Linked DNA regions of Homo sapiens: region 1 is linked to region 2. The links are contacts of gene promoters, found by promoter capture Hi-C in human tissues and cell types (Jung and others, 2019). All regions are on one chromosome and are shown on one strand. The core of a region is centred on a gene start or on the middle of the fragment in contact, and the rest is flanking DNA. Distances in the headings are between cores, read along the strand shown.

Region 1 (6,290 bases), core at 1,337-3,836, 80 kb after region 2:
CGGGCACGCACCTGGCAGCTCTGCCCACGACCTGGGCCCAGCCGACCTTCTCTGTGAGCGCCTCCCGTGCCCCCCACGCTGAGCCCACCATGCCCCGAAGCCCTCCTGCGCCCTCTCCCACCGCCTCTTGGGAGGTGACTGACAGGCCACACCCCACCCAGGACCCATCTAAGAGCAGCGCTCACTCACCCTTCGAGGCCCTCAGGTTCCAGGCTCTCAACCTGATTGTGCACCCAAGCGGCCCGAGGCTCCGTGCAGATTCCGGGCCCCACAGACAACCGCTTCCTCCAGGAAGCCTACCGTCAAGCCCCCCTCCAGGGCTCCTGTGTCAGGAGCTGGCTCCAGGGAGAGTGCGACCCTCAGGGCTGGTCACAGGGATCAGATGAGACTCCGCCGAGCCTGGAGCTGGAAGCTGCAGCGGTGGCCTAGCAGGCATCGCCATCCGTCTGGCCCGGCCGCAGTGAGGGAAGGTGCACCCCAGATTCCTGGCTTTGCCAAAACTGTGCCTGGCGGGCACCACGCATCCTCAGGGAGGCGCCGCAGCTCTGGGGGGGGGCACCCACAGCCCTCTCTGCCAAGGGGAGGAGGGAAGGTGGGCAGAGTCGGCCCTGGGGGCCCTGCAGGCCGCGGGGTACCGGCGTTCCCATCATAGCTCCAGCCGCACGGAAGCCCCTTCACTGAGTCCTCTTGTGAGCCCTTCGGCCTGACTGGGCTGCAGAGGCCCTCCAGGCTGGCTTCCCCCTCATGCCGCCCAGCCTGGCCCCTGCAGGGCCCCAGGTGGGCCTGGGGTGGACCTGGGTGCAGGGCGGGACCCAGCCCATGCCAGGCACATACCTCCAGGCCCGCTCTGCGCCGCACAAACTTGTCTCCCAGGATTTTTCCACACGAAACCTGTCTCCCAGGGAATCAGCCAGTCCGATGAGCTGGGCGTTCCCACCCCGCCCTCCGAGGCCCCCACAGTCCTGTCCCCGCCGCAGAGGCTGCCCCGCACGCGCCGGGCCAGGGATGGAGTCCTGGACACCTCGGCCGTCAGCAGTGGCCTCTGGGATGAGCTGGGAGGCTGGCGGGATCCGGACCACGAGCCGGGTAGGTCTCCCACCCCTTCCCCACCACCCCGACCCCACCTGGTGGCCCCAGCCCGGGCCTCACCCATCCTTTCAGTGGACCTTCCCCTCCCCCTTTAACCCCCCACGCTGACCTCCGACTCCTACTCTCCAGCTTCCTCCCCTCAGAACTGACCTCACCCTTAATGCTGCCTCCTAACCCTGACCCGGCCCTCACGCCAGACCCCTGCCCCAGCCCCATTAAGGCAAAAATCTTCCAGGGACGGAGCTAGGGGGCAAGGGTCTGCCCTGGAGGAGAGCCCAGAGCCAGGGTCCAGGGTCCAGGGAGAAGCAGAGGCTGTCCGATGAGCTCGTGAGAGAAGCCCAGAGGTTGTCATAGATGTTCAGCTCCCACCCCCAGCCCTCCTAGGCTTATCCCCACCCCCATCTACCAGGGGCTTGTCCCAGAGGCTAGAGGGCCTCAGAGCCCATTTGCTGGCTGTGGTGCTAGAAGGAGACCTTCTGGGCACAAGCCCTGCTTGGTCCAGGGCCCCCCCACCAGGGGCCCCCCACTACCCCACCCCCACCAGGGGCCCCCCACCCTCGCTCCCTCTCCATCCAGGCCTCTGCTCTTCCAGACCCCTGGTTCTTCCCTGCACACCCGCTCCTGCCCCAGCCTGACATGCGCTGACAGGAGTGCAGGCCCTCTGAGTCAACCCCCTGGGGCGGCCCCGCCCCCCTGCACCCTGACTCATGTGCTGGGAACGGCCTCCCACCCCAGGGCCTGGGGTGCAGGAGCAGTGGTGCCAGGGTCCCAGAAGCCAGAGAGGGTTTTGGAGGCCTCTGTAGGGGGTGAGGGGGTCCTGGGGGTGAGTTCCAGGGTCTGCAGGCTTCGGGGGAGGGCCGGTCCATCCACATGCTTCCTGGTGCGGAGGGGGCTCGCTGGATTCCAAGGACCAGGGCCAGGGCCTCCATGGAGTCCCGTTGGACCCTAAAGCTCTGTCCCTCCAGCCTTTGTCCTGATCCCTGGCACTGACCCCTGACTCCCGACAGTGTCTCCTGCCAACCCTTCCTAGGCCTCATCCCCACCTCACCAGGAAGGCTGGGCTACCATGGAGGCTGGCTGATTCTTGGAGCTACCTAGGGCCCTAGACCCCCAGGGACTGGGGCACCCTCCCCTTCATGCTGGGGGTGGCAGGACATAGGCCCCCCGCAGGCCCCCTGCCCTTCCCTGACACTCAGGACACAGAGGGCCCCTCTGTCCCAGCCCCACGACAAAGGGCCCGGTCTGGCCTTTACAGGCTGAGAACAAGAAGGACCCAGGTCCCCGTGGCCCTGTTGTGGGATGGGAGAAAAGGAGGCGGGAGGCCAGGCTGGGACCTGGGGCCATGCAGGGCCTGTTCTTCCGCCCAAATTCCACCTTAAGCAGGCGGCGGCCCCTCCCTCCCACCTGGCCAGGTGTCCCCGCCCCCAGCTGCGCTCAGGGCTGGGCAGGCGTCTGTCTTCAGGCGGCTCTGGGTGAGGCTGGCTGGGCGGGGACTTCAGGGAGAGGGCCTCGAGGGACAGGACGTGAAGATAGTTGGGTTTGGAGGCGGCCGCCAGGCCCAGGCCCGGTGGACCTGCCGCCATGCAGGACGGTAACTTCCTGCTGTCGGCCCTGCAGCCTGAGGCCGGCGTGTGCTCCCTGGCGCTGCCCTCTGACCTGCAGCTGGACCGCCGGGGCGCCGAGGGGCCGGAGGCCGAGCGGCTGCGGGCAGCCCGCGTCCAGGAGCAGGTCCGCGCCCGCCTCTTGCAGCTGGGACAGCAGCCGCGGCACAACGGGGCCGCTGAGCCCGAGCCTGAGGCCGAGACTGCCAGAGGTAGGCGGTGGGGACAGCGGCGGGGATGGCGGTGGCGGGGAGAGGTGGCTGCGGGCGGACGTGATAGTGTGAGGGCAGAGGCCGCAGTGAGGCCGGCTCCTGACTCACCAGGCCTCACACTGAGTCACACACCCCGCCCCAGGGGCGTGGGGAGAAGCCATGGGTGGGGCTGCCCTGTCCAAGCAGGGACCCCGGGGTCCTCCAAAGACTGAGCCTGGCCAGGCCCCACCTGTGCCTGGAGTCCTGGAGCCATCCCTGTGGGGGATGACAGGGAAGGTTGGCACATGGCAGGCGGGCCAGGCCACTCGGTCGGCAAACCCGGAACACGCACGCGCCTGGCCCCGGTAGCACAGACTCACATAGGGTCTCAGGGACACCCAGACACCCACGCTCCTCCCATACCTCACGGGAATGAGCAGAACGGGAAAGCGGGGAGAGGTGTGGGGGTGCTGGAAGTCCTGGAGGAAAGCCAGGCCTGTCTGGACCAGGGGCTCCCTGAGGAATTAGAGGGGAGGGCCCGGCTGGAGTGACCTAGATTTCTCTGTGGGAACAGCAGGTGGAGGAGCACCCCTCGGTGCCAGCCAGACCCACCTGTGGCGGAATCCTGGCCCCACTCACGCGAGTGTGTGTGCATGCGTGTGAGTGTGAGTGACAGGAGCACAGACGCTGTGAGTTGAAGGCAGTGGTTCTAGGAACGCCATTTCCTCCTTCCCAGGCTACAGCAACAGGGATTAAGGTTAGACAGTAAGATGGACCTCCCAGAATGCCAGGGACCCAGATGCCAGTTCATCATGGTCCACTTGGTGTTTAGAGGGGCCTTCCCCAGGACTGGCCTCCAGCCACTGGCCAGGGGGAAGTGAAGGTCGCCCAGCGGAGGGGCCGGCCCGGCGGCCTGGACTGTGGGGTCCTCCCTCCAGGGGCCTCAGCCTTGCTGGTGACCAAGTCGGGTGCCCAGGGGTCATGGGGTGGAGGACGGTGAGGGAAGGGTTAATTACCACCCTGGCTGCCCTGCCAATTAGAGGGAGGTGGATTATAATTGGGGGGTGGGGGTGAGGTCCCCAGGCTGGGGCGTGCCCCCACTCCGGGCTGGGCCTCACGAGCGTCAGAGGGTTAATAGCCCCGGCCCAGAAGCCCCATTAACCAGGGTGAACCTGGGGCCTCTGCCATGGGGGTGTCCCCCACAGAGCATCCAGCTCTGGGCAGAGTTGTGGGAGGGCCACGGCCCCTTTCCCTGCACCCCACCCTGAGCCCCTCAGCCAGGTCGCTCTGGTGGGCCTTCTCATGCCCCCACCATCAGCCCATCCTCTCTGCACCCATCCACGAGTCCATCCCTCTGCCCACTCACCATCCAACCATGGGACCCTGTCGTCGACGGCTGTCCCACCCCTCCATCCACCACTCTGTCCATCCTTCCAGCAGTCACAGCAGCCCTCCCATCCTCCTCCTGCCTGTCCCTCCATCCACCCTCCGCCCTCCACCCTCTGCCCACCCACCTGTCTGTCCACTCACTGTGGAGTCGGGCTGACGCAGCTGCCCTTGGCGTGTGTGTGGCTGGACGGGGTGGGTGTGGCCCCTGCCTCAGGCTCTGCCGGGTGGGACAGGGCACTGCAACAGGGCATACTGGTCCAGGGAGACAGTGTCACTCTCCTGTGACCGGGCACAGATGAGGTTTGGGCACAGGAGGGGCTCAAAAGGAGTCAGTGTGGGCCGGGGCAGGCCAGGCTGGCTTCCTGGAGGAGGCTGGGCACTGTACCATGGCAAGGATTGGAGAACTGATGTCAGAGGCCCTGGCACATTCCTCCTGGCGACCAGGAGGTCAGTGGGTGAGCGTATCTGCCCTCTCGGGTAGAGGAGGCACAGCTGGGGGGTGGGCTGTGGAAGATGGACCACCAGGGCTGACATGTGAGGAGACCAAGCCATGGCAGGAATGGGGAGGCACTGGCCCTGGTGCCCCCCTGGCCTCCCTGCCCTGGATTGGAGGCTGCTCCTAGGGTTGCCAATAGCGATGGAGTGGTGGAGAGGAGGCAGGAGGCCAGTGCTTTGCTGTGTGGCAGAGCTGGGCTACCACCGTCCCTCTCCACAGGCACATCCAGGGGGCAGTACCACACCCTGCAGGCTGGCTTCAGCTCTCGCTCTCAGGGCCTGAGTGGGGACAAGACCTCGGTGAGCGATGGGCCCAGCCCGAGGGGGACGATCTGAGCTCTGCAGTCTGGAGAGTGGGAGGCTCTGCAGCGGGCCCGGACACAGGTGAGCCCAGGCACGCCCTCACCGCCCCCTCTCGACCCACAGGGCTTCCGGCCCATCGCCAAGCCGGCCTACAGCCCAGCCTCCTGGTCCTCCCGCTCCGCCGTGGATCTGAGCTGCAGTCGGAGGCTGAGTTCAGCCCACAACGGGGGCAGCGCCTTTGGGGCCGCTGGGTACGGGGGTGCCCAGCCCACCCCTCCCATGCCCACCAGGCCCGTGTCCTTCCATGAGCGCGGTGGGGTTGGGAGCCGGGCCGACTATGACACACTCTCCCTGCGCTCGCTGCGGCTGGGGCCCGGGGGCCTGGACGACCGCTACAGCCTGGTGTCTGAGCAGCTGGAGCCCGCGGCCACCTCCACCTACAGGGCCTTTGCGTACGAGCGCCAGGCCAGCTCCAGCTCCAGCCGGGCAGGGGGGCTGGACTGGCCCGAGGCCACTGAGGTTTCCCCGAGCCGGACCATCCGTGCCCCTGCCGTGCGGACCCTGCAGCGATTCCAGAGCAGCCACCGGAGCCGCGGGGTAGGCGGGGCAGTGCCGGGGGCCGTCCTGGAGCCAGTGGCTCGAGCGCCATCTGTGCGCAGCCTCAGCCTCAGCCTGGCTGACTCGGGCCACCTGCCGGACGTGCATGGGTTCAACAGCTACGGTAGCCACCGAACCCTGCAGAGACTCAGCAGCGGGTGAGCGGCTGGGCCCGGCTCAGGGAGGGGGCTTCTACCACGGGCCCAGCCTGAACCCAAAGTTAGCCTGACCCCTGACCCCTGGCTCCGCAGTTTTGATGACATTGACCTGCCCTCAGCAGTCAAGTACCTCATGGCTTCAGACCCCAACCTGCAGGTGCTGGGAGCGGCCTACATCCAGCACAAGTGCTACAGCGATGCAGCCGCCAAGAAGCAGGTGACCACCCCGACCACCCACTCGCTGCCCCCTGGTGACCTCCTTCGTGGGCCCCACCACCTCCCACTGTCCTCTGCTCACTGAGCACCCCTCATGATCCCCAAGCTGACTGGGTAGACCCCACTCTGTCTGGAGCCCCCTCAGCAGAGGAAGAGCAGAAGGATACAATTTGGATACACCAGTATCACCTGCATCACCTCCGTACCCCCACATATACCTCATCACCTCCGTACACCCGCACACACCTGCG
Region 2 (2,500 bases), core at 1-2,500:
ACCAGTAATTTTAAAGCTAGCTTATTAAAGATTCTACTTAAGTCACATGAACGTGAAAAGCATTTAGGCTTATTATTTAATTTATGAGTACTCTTTAAGTTTAAGCTAAATTTGGTAACTTGTGGCCAAAAACACATAACGAAATATGTGTATGTGCACATATACACACATACACACTCAAGCAAAAGTATGGTTTTACTTCAGAACTCCAGCCATGAGATAGTAATACAAATTCATTGGTTTACACAAACAATAAAAAGAAATGGTTGGATGCAAACAGTGGATTTTATCTCTGTAGAAAAGTAACAGCAGACTTAAAGCAGGCAGAAACGAAAGCAGAAAGAGAACTTAAGAACATTACATTAATAATTGCAGGCCCACCTTTGGGCTCTGATTTTTCCTTTATGTAATTTGCAATTTGTAATTCATGATCCTTGTGCCTGAGGGCTCCCTTCTGCTACTCAGTCTACAATTCCCCGTCCCTGTGAAGGGGCACCCAGGCCTGACAGCCCCAGACTTGGCTTTGCCAACCCTCCAGGTCTCTCCTGCATGGCTAGGACCCAACGCCTAGGTCATCCAGCACTCACCCCAACCAAAGCCATGGGAATTGCTGGGACCCGGAAGGTAGGGGGTGGCACATGTGTGCCCTGTGCTCTGAAGCTGCCCCTACAGGCCCTGGAATCCTCCCCGTGTCTCAACACACTACCCTCTGGGGAGTCAGTTCTCCCCAGAGTCCCCGTTCCTGGGCCTGGAGGGCTGCTTTGGGGCAGGAAACTTTGGCCACCAGGCCTCTGACCTGCACCAGGAGACACTGGGAGGTTTAGTCCCCAAACCCGCACAGAGCAGGACTGCAGCCTGAGGAAAGAGCAAGGATTTCAGGAGAGAGGCCTGCGACAAGTGAGGTGAGGGCTTTTGGGGGATTGTCCTGGCGCCTGGAGTGTGGGGGCCTGGCAGGGGCCCTGAACCGGGACAGTGAGGTCCTGTACTTGCTGGCCTGGGGTGGACAGAACCCAAGCCTGGGTAAAATCCCCAGGGCCCCCTAAACCCAACACTTAGGAAGTCACTAGTCCTGACTTGAGTTTCTGATGAGGAAGCCTCTCTCCTTAGCCTTCAGCCTTTCCTCCCACCCTGCCATAAAGTAATTTGATCCTCAAGAAGTTAAACCACACCTCATTGGTCCCTGGCTAATTCACCAATTTACAAACAGCAGGAAATAGAAACTTAAGAGAAATACACACTTCTGAGAAACTGAAACGACAGGGGAAAGGAGGTCTCACTGAGCACCGTCCCAGCATCCGGACACCACAGCGGCCCTTCGCTCCACGCAGAAAACCACACTTCTCAAACCTTCACTCAACACTTCCTTCCCCAAAGCCAGAAGATGCACAAGGAGGAACATGAGGTGGCTGTGCTGGGGCCACCCCCCAGCACCATCCTTCCAAGGTCCACCGTGATCAACATCCACAGCGAGACCTCCGTGCCCGACCATGTCGTCTGGTCCCTGTTCAACACCCTCTTCTTGAACTGGTGCTGTCTGGGCTTCATAGCATTCGCCTACTCCGTGAAGGTGCGTATGGCCCTGGCGGAAATCCAGGGGGTGCCGGTGAGCCTGGGGCTCCACCTGCCCACATGCTGCCTGGGGTGGGGACTTGTGTGTCCCTGTGACTGTGAGTTTGTGTGCACCTCTGCCCCGTGTGTGCTCACGTCAGTAGCTTTGTCTGTGTGATCTGTGTGTGTGTGTGGCTTTGGGGAATCTGCCCAGTGCAGGTCTAGGAGGAGGCTCCAGGAGGCTGGCTGGCTGGCTCAGAGTCTGTCCCTGGCTATCCATTAGCCCAGAGCAATTCTCCCTATAGCCCAGTAAGAAATTACACCCTCACCTTCCAGACTGGCACCCAGGCTCTCCCAGAAAGTGAGAAGGGAACTCACAGGTGACTTCACCCCATGGTGGGGAGAACAGCCTGTGCTGGGGCCAAGGCAGAAGGAGGATGAGCCCCGAGGCTCCTGGAGAGTCTGAGCCCGGGTGAGGAAGGGGAGGAGGTGGTCCCTGATCTCAGGGCGGGGAGGAGACGGAGCCATAGCACGCGGCTCTCAGCTGGGGGATCCTGGTCCCCTCACCATCTCCTCTCCCCCAGTCTAGGGACAGGAAGATGGTTGGCGACGTGACCGGGGCCCAGGCCTATGCCTCCACCGCCAAGTGCCTGAACATCTGGGCCCTGATTCTGGGCATCCTCATGACCATTGGATTCATCCTGTTACTGGTATTCGGCTCTGTGACAGTCTACCATATTATGTTACAGATAATACAGGAAAAACGGGGTTACTAGTAGCCGCCCATAGCCTGCAACCTTTGCACTCCACTGTGCAATGCTGGCCCTGCACGCTGGGGCTGTTGCCCCTGCCCCCTTGGTCCTGCCCCTAGATACAGCAGTTTATACCCACACACCTGTCTACAGTGTCATTCAATAAAGTGCACGTGCTTGTGATGATGCTGTGACTTCAT

What was found. Contacts are between HindIII fragments. The study calls those that stand out against the background at their distance.
Region 1: a contact is called between the fragment with the promoter of PKP3 here and the fragment with the promoter of IFITM1 in region 2, in 16 of the 25 tissues and cell types used here (H1 embryonic stem cells, IMR-90 fibroblasts, adrenal gland and 13 more).

Annotation. Positions count from the first base shown.
Region 1 is chr11:391,623-397,912 of GRCh38, forward strand. PKP3 (plakophilin 3) reads left to right here and starts at 2,587. Exons shown (of 13, transcript NM_007183.4): 1 at 2,587-2,902; 2 at 4,986-5,065; 3 at 5,192-5,823; 4 at 5,917-6,040. The coding sequence starts at 2,671. RefSeq lists enhancers at 2,040-2,802, 4,761-5,290. The HindIII fragment of the contact is 50,700 bases long and covers 1-6,290 here.
Region 2 is chr11:312,790-315,289 of GRCh38, forward strand. It overlaps IFITM1 (interferon induced transmembrane protein 1), which reads left to right and starts at 1,251. Exons shown (of 2, transcript NM_003641.5): 1 at 1,251-1,567; 2 at 2,133-2,483. The coding sequence starts at 1,382. The coding sequence ends at 2,324. RefSeq lists enhancers at 636-1,191, 1,192-1,747, 1,215-1,554, 2,085-2,244. The HindIII fragment of the contact is 8,559 bases long and covers 1-2,500 here.